Linked DNA regions of Homo sapiens: all the other regions are linked to region 7. The links are contacts of gene promoters, found by promoter capture Hi-C in human tissues and cell types (Jung and others, 2019). All regions are on one chromosome and are shown on one strand. The core of a region is centred on a gene start or on the middle of the fragment in contact, and the rest is flanking DNA. Distances in the headings are between cores, read along the strand shown.

What was found. The method cuts DNA at HindIII sites, captures the fragments that hold promoters and counts their contacts. A contact is called where the count stands out against the background at its distance.
Region 1: a fragment that was not itself captured here is called in contact with the fragment with the promoter of ZNF226 in region 7 in 5 of the 25 tissues and cell types used here (IMR-90 fibroblasts, adrenal gland, small bowel and 2 more).
Region 2: a fragment that was not itself captured here is called in contact with the fragment with the promoter of ZNF226 in region 7 in 3 of the 25 tissues and cell types used here (hippocampus, liver and mesendoderm cells).
Region 3: a contact is called between a fragment that was not itself captured here and the fragment with the promoter of ZNF226 in region 7, in 1 of the 25 tissues and cell types used here (IMR-90 fibroblasts).
Region 4: a contact is called between a fragment that was not itself captured here and the fragment with the promoter of ZNF226 in region 7, in 2 of the 25 tissues and cell types used here (IMR-90 fibroblasts and stomach).
Region 5: a fragment that was not itself captured here is called in contact with the fragment with the promoter of ZNF226 in region 7 in 1 of the 25 tissues and cell types used here (aorta).
Region 6: a contact is called between a fragment that was not itself captured here and the fragment with the promoter of ZNF226 in region 7, in 8 of the 25 tissues and cell types used here (H1 embryonic stem cells, IMR-90 fibroblasts, adrenal gland and 5 more).

Annotation. Positions count from the first base shown.
Region 1 is chr19:43,979,163-43,981,876 of GRCh38, forward strand. It overlaps a transcript of ZNF221 not described here. Among named protein-coding and RNA genes, the nearest start is that of ZNF155, 3.7 kb to the right of the region's middle. The HindIII fragment of the contact is 6,705 bases long and covers 1-2,714 here.
Region 2 is chr19:44,355,350-44,358,049 of GRCh38, forward strand. ZNF112 (zinc finger protein 112) reads right to left here and starts at 1,331. Exons shown (of 4, transcript NM_013380.4): 1 at 1,277-1,331. RefSeq lists an enhancer at 1,140-1,640. The HindIII fragment of the contact is 3,070 bases long and covers 1-2,700 here.
Region 3 is chr19:43,925,069-43,927,768 of GRCh38, forward strand. ZNF45 (zinc finger protein 45) reads right to left here. Exons shown (of 10, transcript NM_003425.4): 4 at 257-390. It overlaps ZNF45-AS1 (ZNF45 antisense RNA 1), which reads left to right. Exons shown (of 3, transcript NR_184050.1): 2 at 74-186; 3 at 1,218-2,700. Among named protein-coding and RNA genes, the nearest start is that of ZNF45, 8.9 kb to the right of the region's middle. The HindIII fragment of the contact is 3,949 bases long and covers 1-2,700 here.
Region 4 is chr19:44,321,087-44,323,977 of GRCh38, forward strand. No RefSeq gene overlaps it. Among named protein-coding and RNA genes, the nearest start is that of ZNF235, 18 kb to the left of the region's middle. The HindIII fragment of the contact is 3,118 bases long and covers 1-2,844 here.
Region 5 is chr19:44,004,128-44,006,827 of GRCh38, forward strand. The region is part of intron 1 of ZNF230 (zinc finger protein 230); the gene reads left to right. Among named protein-coding and RNA genes, the nearest start is that of ZNF230, 2.5 kb to the left of the region's middle. The HindIII fragment of the contact is 3,707 bases long and covers 1-2,700 here.
Region 6 is chr19:43,960,027-43,962,840 of GRCh38, forward strand. ZNF221 (zinc finger protein 221) reads left to right here. Exons shown (of 5, transcript NM_001297588.2): 2 at 2,699-2,781. The coding sequence starts at 2,701. Among named protein-coding and RNA genes, the nearest start is that of ZNF221, 10 kb to the left of the region's middle. The HindIII fragment of the contact is 7,430 bases long and covers 1-2,814 here.
Region 7 is chr19:44,163,766-44,166,483 of GRCh38, forward strand. It overlaps ZNF226 (zinc finger protein 226), which reads left to right and starts at 1,335. Exons shown (of 6, transcript NM_001032373.2): 1 at 1,335-1,377; 2 at 1,992-2,042. RefSeq lists enhancers at 1,027-1,176, 1,237-1,356. The HindIII fragment of the contact is 21,073 bases long and covers 1-2,718 here.

The DNA.
Region 1 (2,714 bases), core at 156-2,655, 180 kb before region 7:
CAATTGTATAGAATTTTACAAAACTAGGAACACACTAAGCATACTTGCTCCTAACAGGATTGTCCTAATATGACACTAATGTTAAAGGCTGTATAAATAAGTTGACCTCCAACCTCATTTCTAATGCCTGCTGTATCCTGGTGTACTGAATATTAATTTTTCCTTAAACAGTTTTCTGATGATGAGGATCTGTGTGGTATCAATTTTAATTACAACATGCCTAGACTACAGTCCCTAGTTATTTAATCAAACAGTAATACATATATATATATATATATATATGGAAGGCATTTTGTAGATATTTAGCCCATAATCAGTTGGCTTTGAGTAGGGATATTATGTGAGATAATGTCAGTGGGCCTGATGAATCACTTGAAATTATTTAAAAGTAGAGCTGAAGCTTCTTTGAAAAAAGAAATTGCACCTTTTAGTAGCATCTTCCTCTCGTGGGTTAGTGTTCCATCTGAGCCATCCTGGGGTATAGCCATATGTTTTTTGCAGTTGCTTAGCCAGTCCCACAGTGGCATAAGAAAGTTCCTTGCAATAAATCATTTGTATATGTCATATTGATTTTGTTACTCCGTTTCAACGCTGACCAAAAGATATTTTGTTCCAGAAGTGGTTCTAGAGGAAGAGAATCTTAAGAATGAGTTTTCTAAATCAATTCTGTGTTTTCTCAAATTGGATTTCTCATCTTTTTTAGTTTAAAGGCACTATTGACTTTATTTCCAGTGGAAAATAGGGCATTGGTTGTTAAAGCCACGACATGGTGATAAATATATGCCAAATATATTGGATAATCCCAAGCATATACCTATAGAAGGCATGATTCTAGATGACCATGAATTTGTTAGTTTCGGACATAATAGTCAAACGAAGGACTATAGTGGTATTTACTAGTTGCTCTGATTTGTGCTTCAGAAAGTGGGAAAGAAAAAGATGAGGACAAGGCATCAAATTCCAGCTCAATCAGAATAACCTGAAAGCGTCAGTCATTATGCATGGCTTCTTAACCTTGTGTTGTTGATCTTGGCATTCATAGTAAATAACTTGACAGGAAATCTATTACACTGTTACTTTATTTGTATAGGCAGGAGGATTCTCTTGCAAGTAAACAGAAATCCAACTGGAATTACCTAACAGAATCACATCTCCCAAATCAATTCTAAGACAAGTCCAGTTTACAAATCCACAATTGCTTCAATAAACGGGAGGTCAGTTCTGTATTAGGATGGACGCTGGTACGTTGCAGAGTGCTTCACAAGGCCCTACAGCCATTAACCCGTGTGACTATGTACTCAAAAGGAGAAATATTCAAACATCTTGGCAACGACTAACTCCTATTATCAAATGGCACGTTTATATTTTGATGATTGGGCCTGGTGAGAAGGAAGCAGGAAGGAATCTAGGCATATTTGTAAGATACATACATACCAGAGGGAAGAAATAAATCTTATAATAATTCATGGGCCTTTCACCTTGGTGAAATTTCCACAAGTTCACTGATGTAGGCCTATTGAGCTATCCCTTCTGGGTGTAGGGCAAGTAGAATATAGCCCTTCCTACGATCAAAAAATAGCGTCACAACGCCTAGTGGACCACTGGGGCTATTGTATGCTACTTATTCCTCATTGAGGCGTGCTACTTTGCCTATTTTGTGTGACCTGAAAACATTTTGACTCATCCAAGATAAGTCTGTGCAATGTGTCCCAGCTGCTATGTAAGTTTCTCTGCCATCAGGACCCTATGACCCAGAAAAGCCAAAAGTGATTAAAATGTTAATGAAAGATAGTGATGGTTGAGCCTTTGGCTGGCCCTAGTTAGTAAATCAGCACTTTACAAGGCTGAGGTGGGAGAATCGCTTGAGCCCAGGACTTCAAGACAAGCCTTGGCAACATAGCAAGACCTTGTTCTAAAAAAAAAAATTGAGGCGAACAGACCAAAAACTCAACATAAAAATGGGTAATAGATTTGAACAATTTACAAAAAGAAAAATAATATTGACACAGGAAATATGCAAAAATGTTCTATGTTATTTAAAAAACAAGAAATATAAATTAAAACTAAATTTAAATACACTTCTTACCATTTGATTGGCAAAACTTTAAAAATGTTGTAATAACACATTTTGTTAGCTAGTTTCAAGGCAAGAGTATATTTATACATTACTTCTGCAAATGGAAATGGTACCAAAAAATTAAGGCAACTTGACAATATGCAACAAAATTTCTATTAATATCTTCACTTTTCAATCCTGCTTTCTGGGATGTACTCTTCTGATGTATCTTCAACAGGGATAATATACAAATGTACAAGTGTATTTATAACAGCATCATTTGTAATAATAAAATATTGGAAGTCACTGAAATGTCCATAAATTGCAGCACTGTTATATAAACCACTCAATGGAATTTATGCAGTTTTAAAAATAAATTACTCCATATGACATGATTTCCAAGATGTTATTATGTGAATATAGAAGAATTAGAAGTGTACTATCCTAACATTTAAGTAAAAAGGAAAAATAAGAAACACATCTATTCTGTTAAAAAAAAGTGGTAATGAAAATAATAAAATTAGTTACATAAAGGTGTTAGGTGGCAACACTGTGGAATTGGTTTAGGGGTAGGAAGGAGGGGAGTGGCACTTCTCTGAGAATAATATGTGGTAGAGCATTGACTCATGGGAACATGTTGATGACTGACATACCCAAT
Region 2 (2,700 bases), core at 123-2,622, 190 kb after region 7:
ATACTTTCTTAATCTTTTACAATATGCAATAATTTATATAATCAGAATATGAACTATAAATATTTCAAATAAAATTAAATTACAGATAATTTTAAAAAATCAAAAATTCAAAGCTTATTAACCTTGCTTTCACGGTCCTCTAGTAAAATCCAAATATGTGTTCTGAAGCTGATACTAAACACATCAAGAACTAAGGCAATGGATGGAAACTATTTGAATTCAAATCCCAGCTCAGGCTCTTACCACCTGGGTGACCTAAAGATAAACCACCTATGCTCTATGTCTGTTTGCTTATCTTTAAAATGGGAATGGTGGTACCCAACCCAGGCTCAAAGGGCTCTTGTGAGGATTAAAGATGTTAATTCATATCAAACTCTTAGAATGATCAGCACTAAATGTTTAAATACTATCTTTATTACTCATGCCCAAGTACTCCCTCATCCGTTTCTGCATTTATTGAACAAATATCAGCGCATCTTCGAGCAGAATTTGCCAGTGAATGATGGAAATATCGTCTTCCCTGAAAAGAAAGGATGATAAGTACTACTCAGGTGAGACTCCGCTGCCAAGTGCCAAAGGGTCATTCCCTCCTTCTCCCTGCAGCCTTTTTCAAGAAGTCAAGGCTAAAGAAGGAAAGGAGGATGGGGGAAATCAGAACTCCTGCATGAATTACAATGGACTACCCAGACAGCCAGGAGTGATCCTGTCCTAAAGAAAAATCTCTCAGTGATCAGAAAAGGGCCAGGGATACTCTGCAGCTGGAGCTCTGACCCCATCCTGGGTTCACAGAAGCTTTCAGGGAACTGAGTCCTTCTCAGAAAATTAAAAAGTGCTAATAACAAGAGACCCATCTTCTACCACCTGTCAGGCTCTGTTCCAAGTCTTTTTATTTAACTCTCAAAAGAACTCCATTAGATAGATACTAGTACCATTTTAAAGAAAAAGAAACATAGGCAGAGAGATTAAGATACTCGCCTGTTATTATACTGCTAGGAAGTGGCAGAGCTGGTTGATGGTCAGGGGAAAGGGCTGGGGAAGTACAGAACCCAGGAGATCCCCAGTCCCTGCGATGTAGGATCTTGGACCCCCGGCGCTAAGTGGGGATGCGCCAGCTGCCCCACACTGGAGAAGGCTCATTCAAAGATAACACAAATCCCGCCCTTCGCCGCAAGTGGATTATCCTCCCCTAGAGCTACTGCCCGGTTGCTACTGGACCCCAACAAAACGAACATCAGTATGGACGGAAGGAGCAGGAAGCAGGGCGGGGAGCGCTCACCTTTCTGGGAGGAACGAAGGCCGCGGCCTAGCGTACCTGGGGCGGAAGTGGCTCTGCCTACCGAGACCTCCTGGACTACGCTTCCCAGAATTCCCGACGGGATCAGGGAGACGGCCTCAGCCTCCTAGAGCGGAAGTTACCCGACTACACGGGGCTCCCAAACTACATTTCCCAGAATTCCTAGAAAAACTCTCCACTTATCTGCCTGCCTAGGACGCAAGTACCGGGTGCCAAGCTGAGAGCCTGGATGATATTTCACATGTGCCGGTCCCAAAGGAATTCCTTAACTCCCCCTTCCTGGAACCGAAATGCTTCCAAAGACAGAGAGCTCGTATATATATTTCTCTGTTTTACCCAGCGGACCGTGCATGAAAGGCGCCTTTCCTGGCGCGTGTGTCTCTGACCCTGTGGATCTTCTGGACAATTCCCGGAATTTCTTGCAGGGTAGCACTTTCCCTTAAGTCGTCTCTTTCTCGTTTGGATAGTCAGTATTTGTATAGTCACTATTCTCTTTTGGTTAGCCATCCAATTTTATACTGCTAGTCCAGTTCTACTGCCTTCCCCCTAGAGTTTGAATTTATTTTTCTTCAAACGCGACACAAACCCAAATAAACTCAACCAAAGCGGACTTTACCTACCTACCTACCTACTTACCAAGAAAATATCCCATAAAGGAGAGAACAGAGAAGCTTGCAATACAGGAAGAAAAAAGAAAAGAATTACAGAATGGAAGCGATGTGTGCGCTAAAAATGCAGGTACTTAAAGGAAATTGGGCTGATTTGTACTGGACACCGAATTTAAGGAATACAGGATCTCAACCTTTCTTTGACTCGATTACCTTTTTATTCCATTTTGGTGTGGACGCGTCTGAAACTGATAGTGCTGCTGCTACCTACCATAATGTGTTTGTTGCAAGATCCACAAGAACGTGGATGCCAAGAATCCACAAAAAAACAGATGCAACCGTTGATGAGGCCATAAGCAGAAACAGTAAATGGTTCCCACGTTTCCTCTGCTTTAACTACTGATGATGAAATGCAAGTCATAAGGCAAATAGAAGGGCTGTACTGATACAGACAAAATGTTATTATTATGGGAAGGGATAAGTCTCTTGTAAAACCTCGAAATTTTTTTCTTCTTTGAGAAAAATCTATCACCTATTTTCACCCTGCTCTTGATATAGCAAATATTGTAAGTTGTCTTATGGAGGACAGGATGATTCAGGGAGGACGGTGAATGGGTTGACTCAATCCAGAAAAGGAAGAGGAAAATAAAAAGACATAACGACCAATCTGTGAAAATGCTCACGGGGTCAGGAGATCGAGACCATCCTGGCTAACATGGTGAAACCCCGTCTCTACAAAAAATACAAAAAATTAGCCGGGCGTGGTGGCGGGCACCTGTAGTCCCAGCTACTCGGGAG
Region 3 (2,700 bases), core at 139-2,638, 240 kb before region 7:
TGAAGCCTCCATAATGGGATTGCTTTCCTTGTAAGAAAAGCAAGTAACCTAGCTCTTTCTCTCTTCCTCCCAGGAAGATACAAGACAACAGCTTCTGCGAACCAGTAAGAGTGGCCTCATTAGACATTGGATTTGCCAGTGACTTGATCATGGACTTCCCAGTCTCCAGGACTGTGAGTTATAAAGGTTTGTTGTTTAAGCCACCCAGCCTATGGTATTGTTTGTTATAGCAGCACAAATGGACTAAGGCACTCACGGAGTCTGCAGCTTCACATGGCTTGATGATGGGGAAACATGGGCTGGATTCCAGATTCCACTTGACCCTTCAGCAGAGAGCCTCTGCACAGTGAAAAATGGAGTTCTTGTAGCTCTCAGGGTATGATTCTGATTCTATGGAGGGTGGAAACGAGTAAAATACCCAGATTAAAAGCTTAGTATTAGTTAATTACTGCTTGATTTATTAGTAAATTATTCTTAGTTCTCTTACTTCAGATAGAAGAACCCTTACTATTGAAAAGGGAAACATAAAACCTTCCAATCTTAGAAGAAATACTTATTTATTTATTTTTCTGAAATGGAGTCTTGCGCTGTGGCCCAGGCTGGAGTGCAGTGGAATGATCTCAGCTTACTGCAACCTCAGCCTTCCGGGTTCAAAAGATTATCCTGCCTCAGCCTCCCCAGTAGCTGGATTATGGGCACCCGCCACCATTCCTGGCTAATTTTTTTTGTTTCTTTTGTTTTTTTAGTACAGATGAGGTTTCACTATTTTGGCCAGGCTGGTCTCGACCTCCTGACCTCAAGTGATCCACCCGCCTTGGCCTCCCAAAGTGCTGGGATTATAGGCGTAAGCCACCACACCCAGCCTGAAATACTCTTTTAGAATTTGTAATTCACTTTGTTCTAACTCTATATTTGCCCAGCAACCTCTGCTCAGTAAGAATGTTTTGCAGGGGATATATTTCCATCGCCTCGGGAAAAAAAAGAGATAATAGCAAATCAACCATCTGTCTTGTGATGAATGTTTATTCAGCTTTATATCCCAAGTACCTAAAACAGTTCCTGTACAAAGTAATTGCCCAGCAGAAATGACTGAACCCACCATCAGACATGGAGAGGCATATAGGAAGACTAGACTAGTTGGTCTAAGTCTCCCTGAGACTGACTCCAGTTGGGAAGATTTGGAGAGCAAGGGTTTTATTTCCAAATTTTTCCTCTAGGTCTTTCACCATATTTGCTGTCCTTGGGCAAGATCAGAGTCATCTTTGGAAGGAAAAGCATCTCTGGATTTTGTTAAATACCATCTTAGGAAAGTACTCTCTGCTCTTCAAAGTCAGCGACGACATGAGTCACTGTTACAGAACCCACAGAATGTGTCCCTTAAAATACTGAGAATGAACACTATTTTACTGCCTGCATAATTAGCACTAGACAGGTGAATTTATTACTACTTCATTAAATAGATGAGTTTATTAACTCAGTGAAGACTTGTGGGAACCTTACTAAAAGAGATGCAATTCCCCAGCCTCAAGATGCTCACAGTCTAGTGATGAGGAAGCTGGCAATTCCACTATACATGGCTAAATGCCAGAGTAGTGCACAGCATCCTTTAGCGGCATGAGGAATGGGCTCATAAGCCCACAGTGGAATGCAGGGGTTCTACACAAACGTAGCTTAATCTGAGCCCTGGAGGGTGACTGAGCTCTATTAGCCAGAGAATCCAAATCACTATAAAACTCCCAGAGAACAAATGTCATGATGTGAAGACAAATAACAGGCAGAAAGAGATGGGCAGGAAGGCAGAATTCAAACCATGATGACGTTCAAGTCACAAAATTATCTGCAAGTCAGCAGGAGAACACTGAAGGACTTCTGGAAAGGAGAGTAAAAAGATTCCTTTCATGTTAGAAACAGATTACCCTCTCAAACGGGAGGAGGCTTGAGGGGGAGGAGGCTAGGGCCAGAGAGACTATTAGGAGAGCCACACTAAGAAACTCTTTCTTCTTTATTCAAATGTCACCACCTCAGAGTCTCTCTCTAGCCATCCTGTAGATAATTTCGGTCTCCTAACTGCACCCCAACACTTCCTATCCCTCATCTCTGCTTACTTCTTTTCTCTAAGCCCTTATTCCTCTCTAACATCCTTCTAGGTATTTACTTACTTATATTCATTACACTTGTCTAATGTGGAGTTTCGTTACCTGCTCCATCCCCAACACCTACTAAGTTGCTACAAGCATTTGGAAGGAACCCAAAGATTTGCAGAATGACTACTTTAATGACTCAGTGAATAGTTGATAGATACACCATGTGGATCAGGGCCTCATTATTTATCACCTGAACCATTCATTCAACATATGATTGTTGAAGGGTCTACTCTGTGCCAGCCAAGGGTCCTAGATGTGAAATATACAGCAGTGAACAAAGACCTTGATCTCACAAAGATGATATTATAATGGGCTACGAGGGCATAGCAAACCCCCAATATATAGCGAGAGACACTTTTAAGAACAATAGGGCAGGGTAAAGAAATAAAGAGATGAAAGGAGGGGCTGTCACAGAATAAGTTTTTGTCATGAAAGATTTCTCTTATATTTGAACAGAGACCTCAAATATAGGAAGAGAAAGCCATGTAGAGATCTGATATCTGAAGGCATGTAATTCAGCCCTGAAGAACATAGAAAATTTTTTTTTGTTAAAAAG
Region 4 (2,891 bases), core at 36-2,535, 160 kb after region 7:
GTTGCTTGTTTTCTGGTTGTTTTGTAACTCCTCCCTTTCTTTCTTCCTTTCTTACTGTCTTCTTTTTTTGCTTAAATATTTAAGAGTCTTCATTTTTCTGTCTTCCTTTGTGGTTAACAGTATGTTTTAATTTGTTGCTTTTTACTTTTAGTGAATCTATTATAGGTTTTTGTATTGTGTTTACCATAAAGCTTACAAAATACATTTTATAGATATAACAGGTTATTTTAAAGAGATGACAACTTATCTTAGATTACAAGTAATAGAAACAAAGAAAAATGAAAAGAAGAAACACTTCTACACTTAACTCCCATCCGTCCCACCTTTTGATTTTTGGTTGTCTCAATGTACATATTTTTATATTACCTATTTCTTAACAAATTGCTCTTGCTATTATTCTTTTTGATAGATTTCTTTTGGGCTACATACTAGTTATGAGTGGATTGCACATCACAATTACAATACTATTCTTGGTTTGTCTGTGTACTTAACTTTACCACTGGGTTTTACAGTTTCAGAAGCTTTCATTTTGCACATTAGTAGCTTTTTCTTTCACATTGGAAACTCCCTTGAACCTTTCTTAGAAGTCTGTTGTGGTAAATTCTCTCATCTTTTGTTTATCTTGGAAAGACTTTATCTCTCCTTCATATTTGAAGGATAACTTTGCTAGATACAGTATTCTTGGATGATAGTTTTTTTTTTTTTTTAATTTCAGCACTTTGAAAATGTCTCTGCACTTCCTCCTGGCCTATATGGCTTCTGTTAAGAAGTCTTTTGCCAGATGAATTGGAGCTCCTTTATATGTCATTTGCTTGTTTTTTTTTTTTTTTTTTTTTTTTTTTGCTGCTTTTATAATTCTTTCTCCTTGACCTATGAGAGTTTATTATATGCTTTGGGGTAGTCTTAGTTGGGTCAAATCTGTTTGCTGTTCTATGATTTCCCTGTACCTGGATATTCATCTCTTTCTTAAATTTTGGAAAGTTTTCTGTTATTTTGTTGAATATACTTTCTACTCCTTGCTCTTGCTCAACTCCCTCCTGAACAGCAGTAATTCTTAGTTTTGGTCATTTGAGATATTTTCTATCTCTTTCAGTCAATATTTGCTCTTTTTCTTTCTCTGTTCTCTTCTGACTGTGTATTCACAAATAGCCTGTCTTGGAGCTCACTGATTCTTTCTTCTGCTTGATACATTCTGCTGTTGAGAGCCTCTAATGGATATTTCAGTGCAGCAAACATATTTCTCAGTTCCAAGATTTCTGTTTGATTTTAAAAAATTATTTTATTCTCTGTTCAGGTTCTCTGATACATTTCTGAATTGCTTTTCTGTGTTATCTTGGAGATCACTGAGTTTCCTTAAAACAGCTCTTATGAAGTCTTGGTCAGAGAGTTCACATATCGTCTTCCTGTTAGGATCAGTCACTGGTTCCTTGCTTTGTCCATTTGTGGGATGCCATGGCTCCCCGTTTGCTGTTGTTGCTTATGGATGTGTGTCTGTCTTTGCATCGAATGATTATACATTCCACTATTCTCTGTCTGGCTGGTTTTGTTTTTCATTGGATATGGCTCCCTAGAGATTCTTTATATTTTACCTGTTGATTTTCTTCTTTCCCGTTAGGTTACTGACTCCTTTTTGGTACTAGATAGCCTATTAACTCCAGGTTTGCCTCAGTTCTAGTAAATAATCATAGTGCCACCCATCCCAAAAGGGGTAGGTCCCATAGGGGATATCCTAGTTGTAAGAAAGCTGGCTAGTGGTTCATGATTGGGGACCTACAGTATAGTGATGCTGAACAGCCACTCTGATTGTTGTCTCCTTTGGCTGAGTTGCAGAGTAGAGTTTCCATGACGGGGACAGTATTCCCACCTCCCTCCTTTGTCTCTGGCTGTCCTCAGGGATATTTCTCTCTTCAGTTACTCCTGATGCTTTCTGTGGGTTGAGTCAGGGACAAGTCTCCTGCCAGGAAACCCAAGATGGGGAGGAGGCTGGTTGTCCACCTTGATTAACTTTTTCCAGTATAGAAACCGTGAGACGGGAAAATTTTCCACAGTCTTGGCACCAGGCAGATTAGGGGGAAGGGCACTGTGGATAGGAAAGTCCACTTCTCTTATCATCTGCTCAGTTTTTTCCACTTATTTGTGTCCTCAGGAACTGTCTCCTTCTATTTGAGTTCTGGGATATTGCTGGTGATAATCTTGGTGCTGTATATTTGTCTTTAGTTTTCTATTGAAAGGAGTGAAGCCAGCTTGCTTCTACATTGCTATTTTTGGAACCAGAATTTAATTTCTACTACTGACTTATGAGATGTACTTTAAAAAATTCTTAAATGGTTACTCTAGGGCTTAAAATATATTCCTGTATTTTTTCACAGTCTATCTTCAAATCATATTATGCCAATTCATGTATAGAGTACAACCATATACCTCTAATTTCTGCTAGTATATTTCTAATTTCTGTCTTCCCTGTTTTGCAGTGTTCTTACGAAACATCTTATTTTTGTATGTCCTCTAAATTCATAAAACCTCATTCCTAATTTTGCTTTACTGAATTATATTTTGGAGTAATAAAAATAAAAATTATTTTACACTTAAAATGATTGAAATAACTATTTTCATAGTTATGTCTTTTGGTAGATCCAAGTCTATTTCTGGTATGCTAAATATCTCTTACAGTGCAGGTCTGCTAACAGTGAATTCTATCAGCTTCTGTTCATCTGAAAATGCCTTTATTTTGCATACCTTCTGAAAGATTTTTTCCACCAGGCTTAGATTTTTGATTGATCATTTTTTTTATTGTTGTTTCTAAATGTTAAAGATGTAACTCCATTGTCTTTTGCTTGCATGGTTTGTGATGATAAGTCTGATGTTTTTCTCACTCTGCTTCTTATATGTAA
Region 5 (2,700 bases), core at 201-2,700, 160 kb before region 7:
CGTCTAGGAATTTTTAAAAATTTCTCAACTATTTTGTTTCATGTTTTCCAAGTATTTCGTACTGTTGTGGAACTGTATCATTGTGGAAAAGTCTGAAATAGGAGAAATGAGAGTAGAAAAAGTTTTTTAATTACCCATGTATCCAAGATGTAAAGGTAGTAACTGTTAAGCTTCTAATTGATTTCTTTTGTCTTTCTTTGTGTCTACTTCTATATTTGTTGATAAACATTTTTTTAAAAATTGTTATATTTTAATGTGTTTTCCCATATGTCTTTTAACTATAGAAAATTTTAAATATTGCTAATAGAGACTAAACTAGTGAGGCTGGTTGTGGTGGCTCATGCCTATAATCCCAGCACTTTGGGAGGCCAAGGCAGGTGGATCACTTGAGGTCAGTAGTTTGAGACCAGCCTGGCCAACATGGTGAAACCCCATCTCTACCAAAAATACAAATATTAGCCGGGCGTGATGGCACGTGCCTGTAGTCCCAGCTACTCTAGAGGCTGAGGCAGGAGAATTGCTTAAACCCGGGAGGTGGAGGTTGCAGTGAGCCAAGATCACGCCACTGCACTCCAGCCTGGGCAACAGAGTGAGACTCAAAAAAAAAAAAAAAAAAAAGAATAAACTAGTGAACTGCCATATTATATAATGCTCAATTTTATTATTCCCATTATCCTTATGACTATTTCCTGATATCTAAAATATTTTTGCTGGGCGCGGTGGCTCACGCCTGTAATCCCAGCACTTTGGGAGGCCGAGGCGGGTGGATCACGAGGTCAGGAGATCGAGACCATCCTGGCCAACATGGTGAAACCCCATCTCTACTAAAAAAAAAAATACAAAAAATTAGCTGGGCATGGTGGCAGGCAGTTGTGGTCCCAGCTACTCCAGAGGCTGAGGCAGGAGAAAGGCGTGAGCCCGGGAGGCGGAGCTTGCAGTGAGCGAGATCGCGCCACTGCACTCCAGCCTGGGCTAGGGAGCGAGACTCTGTCTCAAAAAAAAAAAAATTAAAAACTAAAAACAAAATAAAATATTTTCATCTTTATATCATTTAAAAGCTATAGAAAAGTTGCAAAAATAGTATAAGGAGTTCTCATACTCTATCCAAATTTGCCAATTGTTTACATTTTTCCTGGTTGCTTTGTTGATGACCATCAGCCAAATACCACCAGGAACATAACTAACCAGAGACAGCTGATTATGGCTTTCTGCAGCAAGGAAGCCCACATACCATGGTAAATGTGGGGTGTGTTGGTAAGAGGTATTTAAGAAGGGATGGTATAGGGTTTCACATAACATGCTAGATAATATTAGATATTAAATAATATTGTTATCTATTACATATCAGATCTGTTAAAAGACTACTAGTAGTTGTAGTGTTACTCATTAGATAGTGTTGAATAGCATATTACCTAACATCCTGTTATCTAATCTGTAGTTACATATTTAAATTTGTTCAGTTTTTCATTTAAAGTCCTATGCCAGGCACAGTGGCTCATGCCTGTAATCCCAGCATTTTGGGAGGCAACGGCGGGTGGATCTCCTGAGGTCAGGAGTTCGAGACCAGCCTGGCCAACATGGTGACACCTTGTCTCTACTAAAAATATTTTTAAAAGCCGGGTGTGGTGGCATGCTCCTGTAATCCCTGCTACTTGGGAGGCTAAGGCAAGAGAATCACCTGAACCCAGCAGGCGGAGGTTGCAGTGAGCTGAGATCGCGCCACTGCACTCCAGCATGGGTGACAGAGCGAGACTCTGTCTCAAAAAATAAAAAAATAAAGTCCTTATGACTGTGTCCCCTACCCCACCCTTCACCTGCAATGCCATTCAAAGTCCAGTTTATGCATTGTCTTTAGTTGTCACATTCCACAGTTTCTTTAGTCTAGAAAGATTCCACAGTCTTTGTCTTTTATAAACATGGTGGTTTTTTTTTTAATAGGAAAGTTATTTTGGAGAAAGATGTTCATTTGGAGTTTGATATATTTCATGTTTAGTTTCAGATTATGTATTGTTGGTAAGGATATTGCACAAGTGATGAGGTTTCCTCTTTATTGCAACATAACAGGGTTCACATGATGTGGTTTGTCCCTTCACTGGTGATCTCAACTGTGTTCACTTGGCCAAGATGATGCCTTTCAGATTTGTCCGCTGTAAAGTTACCTTTTTTAAAAAAACTCAAGTTTCTTATTGGAAGGTACATTATTAGTGGGCATTCTACTAAAGATGAACTTCTAGTTCTCTTCATTTATTCATTTGTTTGTTCAAGTATAAATCTCCCAACAATATGGACTCAGAATTCAGTCTTATGAAGGTAAATGACATGTGGATTAGCAATTTTTTTTCAACTCTATTGAGGTATATTTTACATAAAGCATTCACTCATTTCAGGAGTACAGTGATCTTTAGGAACTTTGTAAAGTGGAGTAACCATCATCATAATTCAGTTTAGTTATTTTTCACCCTCAGTTGGACTCTGTGCCCATTTACAATTAAACCTCATTCTCACCCCAAATCTGGAGCAACCACTAACCTACTTTTCCTCTATGTATACATTTGCCTATTCGGACATTTCATATAAATGGAATCATCTAATCCATGGATTTTGGTGACTGGCTTCTTTCTCTTATGATGTTTCCAAGGTTTGTGCATGTTGTAGCATGGGTTGGTACTTCATTCCTTTTAATTTCCAAATTAGATTCCA
Region 6 (2,814 bases), core at 248-2,747, 200 kb before region 7:
GATTAAATAGCTGTGACCAAAATGCTGGTGGGAATATGGACAATGAAGTCCAGGCTGATGAGATCTCAGATGGAAATGAGGAAGTTATTGGGAACTGGAGTAAAGGTCACCCATGTTATGTCCTAGCAAAGAACTTTGCTGCTTTGTGTTCATGCCCTAGGGATTTCTGGAAGCTTGAACTTAAGAGTGATAACTTAGGGTACCTGGCAAAAGAAATTTCTGAGCAGCAAAGCATTCAAGAAGTGGCCTGGCTGCCTCACTGCTTCAAACAGCCTACAATTATATATGGGAGCAAAAAAATGACTTAAAGTTGGAATTTATATTTAAAAGGTAAGCAGAGTATAAAAGTTTGGAAAATTTGCAGCCTGGCCATTTAGTAGAGAAAGAAAAAGCATTTTTAGGAGAGGAATACATGTCGGCTGTGGAGCAACCACTCGCAAAAGAGATTTGCATGACTAACAGAAAGCCAAGTGGTAATATCTGAGACAATGGGAAAAAGACCTGGAAGACATTTCAGAAGTCTTCAGGAAAGTCCCTCCCATCACAGGCCTAGGGGCCTAGGAGAAAAGAATGGTTCCAAGGGCCAGGCCCAGGGACCCCCTGCCCTGAGCAGCCTCAAGACATTGTGCCCTGAATCCGGCCACTCTGGCTCCAGCCTCAGCTTAGAGTGCCCCAGGCGCAGGCTGGGTTGCAGCTCCAGAGGGTTCAAGCCTTGATAGTTGTGGTAGTTTCCACATTGTGTTAAGGCTGCAGATGCTCAGAATGCAAGCATGAAGGAGGCTTGGCAGCTTCTACCTAGATTTCAAAGGATGTATGAGAAAGCCTGGGATCCCAGTCAGAAGCCTGCCACAGTGGGGGAGCCCCAACAGAGAACCTCTACCAGGGCAGTGCCAAGGAGAAATGTGAGGGCTCCCCACAGAGTCCCCACTAGGGCACTACCTAATGGATCTGTGGTAAGGGGACCACTGCCCTCTGAGAAGTGGTCCTGAGACCACTGCTCAGTCATATCACTTGGCTGCCCAAGGCCTTGGGAGTCTATCTCTTATACCAGGATGTGGGACATGGAGTCAAGGATTATGTTGGAGCTTTAAGAGCCCTGGCTGGAGTACAGTAGCACAATCCTAACTTGCTGCAGCCTTTAACTCCTAGACTCAAGCTATCCTCCTGCCTCAGCCTCCCAAGTAGCTGGGATTACAGGCTCAAGCCACAGCACCTGCCTCTTCATATGCTCTTTACCCAAATTTTCCAATTATTTACATTTTGTATTTTGCTTTGTTAACACCCATCAGCCAAATACCACTGGGAACAAACTTATAATGAGAAACAACTTATTGTAGCTTTCTGCATCAAGGAACCCCACATAGCAAGGTGATCATGGAGTGTCTTGGTAAGAGGCATTTAGGAAGGGCTGGCTATAGAGTTTCATATAAGATGCTAGGTAGTATTAGATATAATATTAAGTAATATCACTATTAAATACTAGATATCAATTAAAAGACTATTAATATTAGTTAATTCTGTTACCTATTAGATATGGCTAGACACCATCATCTTTTCTATCCAAACTCCCATATTTAAATTTGTTGTGCTTTTTAAAGTTCTTGTAACTGTTTTCCCCCATCCCCCAGTCCAAAGTCCAATTTTATGTACTGCTTTTAGGTGTCACATTTCTGTAGTCTTCTTTAATCTAGAAAGATTCAACAGGCTTTGTCTTTTTATTCTTGACATCCTTGAAGTATATAGGCAAAGTATTTTATAGAAAGATAGTCATTTGGGATTTATGTATTTCATGTTTAGGTTCAGATTATGCATTGTTGGTGTGGATACCACAGAAGTGTTGAAGTGTCATAACAGGGGCCAAATGATGTCTGTTTTTCCCTTCATTGGAGATCTCAACTTTGTTCACTTGGCCAAGATGATATCTTTCAGATTTTTCCACTGAAAGGTTACTTTTTAATTAAATTTTGAAAATAAAAACGTTTCTTACGGGAGATACATTATTAGTGGGCATTATCCTGTAAAGATTAGCTTCCACTTCTCCCTGATTTATTAATCAGTTTCTTCAACTATAAATATTCTATCAATATGGACCCACAATCCAGTTAAATAACATGTAGATTAACTGTTATTATTTCCAACTTTATTGAGGTGTATTTTACATGTCATAGAATTTACCCATTTCAGTCGTACGATTTAATAATCTTCAGGAACTTTGAACAGTGGTGTGACCGTCATCATAATTCAGTTTAGATCATTTTCGCCCCCCAATTGGACTCCTTGTGCTTATGTACAGTTAAACCTCATTCTCACCTCAAATCTGGAGCAACCACTAACCTACTTTCTCTATATATACATTTGCTTATTCTGGATATTTTATAAAATTGAATTTTACAATCCATGGGGTTTTTAGACTGGCTTCTTTAACTTAGCATAATGTTTCCAAGGTTCATACATGTTGTAGCATGAGCCAGTTCTTCACTCCTTTGAATTTCCAAATAAAATTCTGTTGTATGGATATGCCATGATTTGTCTATTCATTTACCCGTAGGAGGGCATTTTGCTTGTTTGCAGTTTGGGGTTATGAGTAATGCTGCTATGAACATTCATGTGCTAATTGAAAATACTTGTCTATGTTGGTGGTCGGCATTCCTAGTTACCATTTCCTGTCTGTTTTTCTGCCTTTCCTGGCACTTTCCAGGCATGATTTCACCTTCACTTGAACTGCTTCATTCAGGACTCTGCAAATTCCCTGAAGTAGAAGGAAAAATGACCACATTCAAAGTGAGTAGGGCTTGCCTCTCTTGCTGTTAAAAT
Region 7 (2,718 bases), core at 85-2,584:
TTTAGGGGATATTGTCACATAACATTTTTCTATCTTTGAAAAGATCCACAATATTATGTAATGATTACCACTATCTAATCCTAGAACTCTTTCATCTGCTCCCAAAAGAAATCCCCTACATGAGCTGGGTGTGGTGGTGCATGCCTGTAGTCTCAACTACCCAGGGGGCTGAGGCGGGAGGATCACTTGAGCCCAAGAATTTAAGGCTGCAGTGTGCTATGATCATGCCTGTGAATAGCCACTGTACTCCATTCTGGGAAACATAACAAGACGCTGTCTCTAAAAAAGTAAGAAAAAAAAAACCCTACATATTGACAGTCACTCCCCATTCCCAACTACATCTCCCCAGCCTTGGAGACAACTAATTTACTTTCTGTCTCTATGGACTTGCCTATTCTGCACATTTGATATAAATGGAATCATACCATATATGGTATCTTGTGTCTGGCTTCTTTCATTGGACATAATGTCTTCAGAGTTCATCTATGTTATAACATGAATCAATATTTTGTTCATTCACATTACTAAATAATATTGCATTATATGGCTAGACCACATTTTGTTTATCCACTCATCAGCTGATGGACATTGGGTCTTCTCCACTTTTTGACTATTATGACTAATGCTGCTATGAACTTTTTTAGAACAAGTTTTTGTGTGGATATCTTTCAGTTCTCCTGGGTATTTACTTAGGAGTGAAATTGCTGGCACATAAGCCCCAGATCGGGTGCCAGCAGATTCAGTGTCTGGTGAGGTCCCGCTTTCTAAGTCATACATGGTCCTTCTGGCTGTGTCCTCACATAACTAAAGAGGCAAAGGAGCTCCCTCAGGCCACTTATAAGAGAGCATTAATCCTATTCATGAGGGCATTGCCCTCTTGATCTGATCACGTCCCATAGGTTCCACCTCCTAATATCTTCTTGGGAGTTAGGATTTAAACATACGAATTTGGTGGGGGCCATAAACACTCAGACCATAATAATACCTAAAGAGAAGTGAGGGATTCTGGGAAATGAAAACCAGGAGCTCAAGGTAGTTGGACACTTCCACATCAGAAGGCTTGGACATTCCGGAAGTGTAGTCCAGGAGGGCGGTACTGTTCTGTTTTTCCCCCAACTCCAGCATTCTGTGATATGTAGTCCGGAGTTCCGTGTAGTCGCGCATAGCTCAGCTGCAGTAAGGCTGTAAATGTTTCCCCTGCGGAATCCTGGGAACTGTAGGTCCAATCGTTCTAGGTAGTTGTAGGCACTTCCGGCTCGAGGAAGGCAGTGCTGTGGAATTCTGGGAAGCGTAGTCCAGGTCCTCCTGATACTCGCAGGCACTTCCGCCCAGGAAGACGACGTAGCAGCCATCTTTTCCCTGGCTTTGGTGATTCAGGTCAGCTTCTCAGGAACCTTTCAAACTTCCCCGAAATGCACTTGTGGTCAGCAGCTAGCGGTCTTTTGTTTGGGGAAAAAAAGGAGTAGCGGCTAAGAGCGGAGGTTTGAGGGGCCAGGATGCTGTTTTGCGTTTCCCTGGGCGGAGCTTGTTAGAATTGGGGGCGTACTGGCTTCGGGCGGCTGGGGTGATGCTTCGTCGGGTTTGAAGGTCTCTCGGGCTGTTCGCTCCCTCATTGTGACTCCCCCACCTAATGAGCCAGCCCTACCACTTCATACAGTATCACATTGAGCGAGTTAGTTAATCCCCGTGCCTTCGTTTGCTGTTCTGAAGGAAAATAAAAGCAAAAACTTCCTAATAGAATGTTTTGAGAGAAAACGAGGTAATACAAAAAGTGTAAAACTGCCTGGCACGTGAATTACCAATACTACTGTAATTTTCCTAGAAACTCCCGTTCTGTGGCGAAATTCTGTGAGTCCATGAAGCTGGATTGTCCCTGACCTCTTTTGAGGAAGGAGAGGGTTGCTTCTAACTGGTCCTGGGAGATGCCACTGTGATGTATCCGGGATGAAGACACAATCCTGGTTACTTCATAGCCTGTTTTTCTTCCCCAGCCCTGACTTCTCAAAAAGCACTGCACAGAGGAGGAGGCAGCAGAACCCCATGTGAGTAAGACTTGTTGTTATTCTTGTTTTATTCACATAAATCAGAGAATGTGTGGGGTCATGTATTTGGGCATGAGAAGTGATTATAATTTAGCGTTAGTTGCTAAGTTCCATTCTAAGGGGTTTATACAAATGAACACCTTTCCACTATACAGTGGCTCTGTGAAGTGATACTCTTTTTCCGAGGAGACTGAGACATAAGAACATAACTTGTTTGCTCATAGCCACCTAGCTAGTAGGAGGCAGAGCTAGCATTGAAACCGAGGCAGTCTGAGTCTAGACCTGAGTCTTCTTTGGTATGTTCTGCATGAGCCATAGGCAGCTGGCTAGTATCATGTGAAAATAGGTTGGGACTTCACTGTGGGGACTTTGCTCAAGGTCTGGGCTATTCTATGACTTTTAAAAAATAGTGGCTGGGCACAGTGGCTGACGCCTGTAATCCCAGCACTTTGGGAGTCTGAGGCGGGCAGATCACTTGAGGCCAGGAGTTTGAGACCAGTCTGGCCAACATGGCGAAACCCCATCTCTACTAAAAATACAAAAATTAGCCAGGCGTGGTGGCCAACACCTGTAATCCCAGGAGTTTGGGAAGCTGGGGCAGGAGAATCGCTTGAACCCAGGAGGCGAGGCTGCAGTAAGCTGAGATCACACCGGTGCACTCCAGCCTCGGCAACTG